Regions from separate parts of the Homo sapiens genome. Here region 1 is linked to region 2. The links are contacts of gene promoters, found by promoter capture Hi-C in blood cells and fetal thymus (Javierre and others, 2016). All regions are on one chromosome and are shown on one strand. The core of a region is centred on a gene start or on the middle of the fragment in contact, and the rest is flanking DNA. Distances in the headings are between cores, read along the strand shown.

What was found. Contacts are between HindIII fragments. The CHiCAGO score rates a contact against its expected background, and 5 or more counts as called.
Region 1: a contact is called between a fragment that was not itself captured here and the fragment with the promoter of GPR149 in region 2, in 1 of 17 cell types (M1 macrophages). The highest score is 5.1, in M1 macrophages.

The regions. Positions count from the first base shown.
Region 1 is chr3:155,637,273-155,640,026 of GRCh38, forward strand. The region is part of intron 2 of PLCH1 (phospholipase C eta 1); the gene reads right to left. Among named protein-coding and RNA genes, the nearest start is that of PLCH1, 110 kb to the right of the region's middle. The HindIII fragment of the contact is 1,134 bases long and covers 750-1,883 here.
Region 2 is chr3:154,428,880-154,431,579 of GRCh38, forward strand. It overlaps GPR149 (G protein-coupled receptor 149), which reads right to left and starts at 1,311. Exons shown (of 4, transcript NM_001038705.3): 1 at 1-1,311. The coding sequence starts at 736. The HindIII fragment of the contact is 3,253 bases long and covers 1-1,497 here.

The DNA of each region.
Region 1 (2,754 bases), core at 67-2,566, 1.2 Mb after region 2:
CCATTTCCCTGTGGACTACTCAGTGCCAGAAGAGGCTAAACCCTTAACTTTGGCCAGCCCCTGGGCACAACATCAAGTAAAAAGGAATTCGAAAGTTCTATATGACTTTGGCCAGGCCAGCATTATTAGAAAAACATGGTAGGTCCTGTCCTAATAAAAGATGAGAAAAGTCCTAAGGATGAGCAAAATAAAATGCCATGTAGATAAGGATCCATATCTGTAGATAAGGAATCGATTCAAAGTTCATATTATTTTTTCCTCGAAGTGGGAAAATATTACCTACATTCAATTAGCACTTTTGCCCTTTTGCTATGGAAAATGCGTTTTGTGAGTAGTCCCTTATCATTTTTATTTCCTCAGACAGCAAATTAATTCTTATACTTCTCTACAGAGGACAGGACAAACTTGTAGTTAATATTGAAGATTAGGAAATGACCTTAGCCACAATTATCATACATCAATAACACTTTCCCAAAACCCAAGAAAGAACCTCTCACCTACTTTAGTATGTTTACTCAGTGGATTTAAAGTAACCTTTCAAATCACCAACTGCAAAGACAACATTCCACCTCAAAATGTATTCAAAGTGGGCTCTTGAATTGCGCTTTTATGGAATTAACCTACCATCTTCTTATGAAAAAGTCACCTGACATCCCTGGGTGCACTAGCCAGTGCACAAAGGAAGCAAGGGGTTCAACAGTTAGGAAGACAGTTTGCACACGATCTGCACATGTTTACCGTCAAATCAAAGCTTGATGATAAACATCACTCAGCTTTGGCACATCTACTGATGGCATTTGTTGGTGGATTATGCTTTCTTCCCCTTATTTATTTCACAATGGTTATCATGGCACAGCTTTCCAAATGATGTTTTTAAGTGTTCAGTTGTAAGAATGCAAGTTCAAGTATGCTTTCTTCCTCACTACAAGAGAATATGATTTCAAATATTCAACAAATTGGTTTACCTAATGGTCTCTTTGGAGGGGTCTCCCACTATTCTACTACCCACTATCACCCCAATAAATACTCTAGTGATATAACCCCTTCAACAGTTATCATCATTGAACTTTAAAAACATAACACCATATACCTTTAACCATGTACATGTTCCCCACCAGTTTCCACAAAGAGCTAAATTTAAGCCTGCTATAAGAGAGAATCGAAATTTGGTTTGCTTTCTTTTAGACTCTGCTACATAGACTTTAAACATGCAGAAGAGCTGACTTTGCCAACAAAGCTCATCCTTCTTTTTTCCAAAGCAGCCAGCTGTGACTTCATTTTGGATTTAGGCTATGATTTTTCTGATTTTTCTCTTTGCATGTGAATGTTTATTTGTGAAGTCTTGAACTTCAAGCTACTTCCAACTCTAGAAATGATTTGGGCAAGCTGCCATGTTTATAATCTTAGAGCCTCCAGCTTCCCAGATAATACAAACTCTCTTGTTATTTAATTAATGTCAAACTCATAATGTCATGCAACATTGCTGTTAGATTTCTATTTTTCTAACATGTCTATTCTCCTAGTTACTCCTAACTAGAATGAGTAAACCTTCTGAATAAATCAGAGACATCTTTACAGGCAAATGATTAAAGGGTTTGACTGCCTGCCATAATATTGGAACAAGATCTGGGGGAAAATATTAATGAATAAAGGATTATAACCCTGGACAAGCAAGCAAATGTAGCTTAAATATATAACAGTTTCCCCCAAAAAGTAAACTGGACTTTATACTATATATAATTATATTATATTCCATGCATCTCTATATTACAGCACCTTAAACAGTGTAGATAACTAGTAAATATCGGTTAAATAAATGAGTAAATGAAAAAAATTGACAAGATATACCACCTTGTTGGAAAGATAGGTTCTTGGCTGCCTTAAGCTTCCCATAAATAAACCAGGGGCCAGGGGTGGTGCTCACACCGGTAATGTCAGCACTTTGGGAGGCCAACGCGGGAAGATCACTTGAGCCCAGGAGTTCGAGACCAGCCTGGGAAAAATGGTGAAACCTTGTCTCCACAAAAAATAAAAAATACTTAGCCTGGAGTGGTGGTGCAAGCCTATGGTCCCAGCTGCAGAGGAGGCTTAGGCAGGAGGATCACTTGAGCCCAGGAGGTTAAGGCTGCAGTGGGGCACGTTCATGTAACTGCATTCCAGGCTGGGCTACAGAGCAAAACCCTGTCTCAAAAAATAAATAAATAAGCAATGTATATGGCAATCACAGTCCTCGGTACCAAAGACCAAACTCCAAGCCTATATGAAGACATCTGATGTTATAGTCATTGGAAAATGAAAAGGGAAGGAGTGGGCTAAGGGGAGCAACAAAAGGTTGACTGTGTTTTCTTCTGGCAGTCTGCTTTCACAGCCAGTACTATGCCTGTGGCCATCTCCCAGGCTCAGGAGAGCCTATCTTACTCTAGCCCATCAGATTCACTTTCCCGGGAACTGGAAATAGAACCTTGATATGGTTTGCATTTGTGTCCCTGACTAAATCTCATGTCAAATTATAATCCCTAGTGTTGGAGGAGGGGCCTGGTGGGAGGTGACTGAGTCATGGGGGTGGATATCCCCCCCTGCTGTTCTCAGGATAGTGAGTGAGTTCTCACGAGATCTGGTTGTTTAAATATGTGTGGTACCTCCAGCTTCTCTTTCTTCCTCCTGCTCCAGCCATGTAAGACATGCTTCCTTCTTCTTTGCCTTCTGTCGTGATTGTAAGCTTTCTGAGGCCTCCTCAGCCATGCTTTCTGTACA
Region 2 (2,700 bases), core at 61-2,560:
CCGCAGTAGGAGGGGTCCCAGGAATTGAAGCTCCACGGGAAATTTCCTGGTAGTTGGAGTGGAGTCTCGGCGGCTCCTCCGAACACAGCAATCGGTGAGTGAGTGGGACTGAGAGGCCCACGAGGAGTCCGAAGGCCAAAGCGTACACGATAGAGAGGAATAGTACGTAGGAGCTGGAGCAGTCCACCAGGCAGCCCCAGGGCGTGCGCACGAAGGCGCCCCAGCCGCACAGCGGGAGCGCCGAGAGCAGCAGACTGGCTGCCCACACGGTCAGCACCACGCCGAGCACCTGGCCCGATCTTCTGGAGGCTGTCTGGCTCCCCACACCTCTGTGCATCGTATAAAAGTTGTAAGAGACTAGGAGAGTCGCCTTCAAGTTGCTAGAGAGGCCCTGGCATAAATACATTAAGGCAGAGGTGGTGCACAGAAATTGGAAGTAACCGGGGACCTCGTTTGGCCACTGCAAAAACATGAAGATGGTCACCGACAGGACGCTCATGAGATCATCCACAGACCAGGAAGCCACAAGCATGGACACAACAGTTCTGTTCTGCATTTTCAGCAGGGAAATTAGTGAATAAATGCTGCCCACCAAGGCTGCAAAAGTCATGAGACATGTCAAGCAAAAAAGATAGATATTCAGGGTTCCTGGCGGATTTAAAAGGTCCGTAGAATTATGATTCTCTTTCCACAGGCTAGAGTCATTTGTTGATAAGTTACTGAGAAATAAAGACATTGTCCTTGGTCAATATTTAATTTCCCTTATCAATGAGTCTGATAATTTTCTCAAAAGAAAGACCGGCTGCTGCAAATCAGATTTCATTCCTCCTACCAAGTTCCCCTCTAGATGTTCTCCTTGTCAGTCCTGCAGAAAATGGTCAGCCATGTCTCCTTTAGATCTGACTCAAGCTATATTTAAAAATTAGGTTCCATTTCAAGCATAAAAAAAAAAAAACCCGAACAGATAACTTTTCAACATTCCAATTAAAAACAAAGCAAAAACTCCTTCCCACCATCAAGTTTCAGGGAAGAAAGCCAAAAAAATAAACAAAACAAAACTCTTCAGGTACATTAAAAACCAATGATGTCTGGATCCTTTGGGGTCCTTCTTATGGAGCAAAGCAGCTTGTAGCTTGAGATAATCAAACTCTGTTCACTTTTAAGAGCAGTAAAATGATGCATTTGGTTCCAGAGCTGGATTCAAAGGCAGGAGATTGTCAGGTAGGTTTCAGCTTTGAAGGTGGAGAGAGAGAGAGAGACAGAGAGAGAGAGAGAGAGGGCGAGCGCGAGCCAGTCAGAGGGAGCTTGTGCACAGAATCCCATCTGAACCGCTGTGTTCTTCAATCAGCCTGTGATCCTCGGAGCTGCAGGAAGGAGGAGTCAGCTCCAAGCAGGAGAGAAGCAGGAAAAAAAGGGAGGGGAGTTCAGTGTGTGAACAAAATGATATACGTATATCTTAGACTGACTCTTTCAAAGCAAGAAACGGTGTACTTGCTAAGCTTCCCCTTTGGTTTCAACATGTAAAATTAGTCCAAATACTTGCTCAGGCTTGATGTGAACTACAAATATAACCTGTGAGAGGTCTAAGCTACTCCAGTAACTAAGGGACTGCTTTTATTCTTACCTAGACTTTCTGCTTCATAATCCATTGGAGGAAGAATATCATCAATCCCATGCATAAGAGTCAGATGTATCAGATTTCTTTTAAAAAAATAGTGTACTTAAGATTGTCGTTATAGTCCTCATTACTCTAAACGGGATTATACAGAATCTTTGGATAGAGTCACACTAGCTTTAGACATTTATTTATAACTATTTTCTGTCAATGGTATCAAGTAAGCAGGCTGTCATTCGAATAAATTATATGTCTAAGTATCCATAAAGTCGGAAGATATTACATAGGGCCTAAAAGGAAGATCACCCTACATTTTTAACCAGAGTATTTGGGACATACAATAGTTGTATCTCTTAATGGTCAATTTTGCAAGATGCGTGATTTAGCAAAGAAGTATCTAACAGAAGTACTTCTGGTCCAGCATTTCCCAGGATGCTTTAGGGCAGCATTCTTCTCAGCTTAGCCTCATGACCAGATGGCTGCATTCTCCCACATAGTGCTGGAGGTTTAAATGGAAACAGGGGAAGGGAAAGGAAATAGTTGATATTGATAATGATTTAATAACTGGAAGTAGTAATAGAACTGCGATCATTCTTTTCATTTTAGAAATAACTGAAGTATCATTTTGAACCCGAATCTGTTCAAGTAGAAAATGGTTGCATTAGTCATTACCAGCCACACCCTTCAATAAACACAGCAGGTATTTCACTTATCTTGATATGTTGATTGTTTGATTTTCCCCCTTACTCAGCAAATGGAAACAAAAAACACATGTAACAGCTAGCTCAGCACTCTAGCTCTCCCTACTGATAGTATAGACTGTGTAGGGCTGTGTGAGTAGGAAAGGTTGAGGGTATATTCATTTTAAAATAATGTTGATTCAGAAAGTATGATGAAAAACAAATCTTATTTTTGAAGACTTCAAAGTTCCATGACATGCCATTCTGTCTCTTCTCACAAACCTTATTCTTCCTTGCCATAGCAAAAATATTATTCTTCAATATCGTATTGAATCCTGCATTTTCAGTTAGGTTGGACAATAAGTCTCAGATTGTTAATATACAATGAATAGAAATTAATAATAG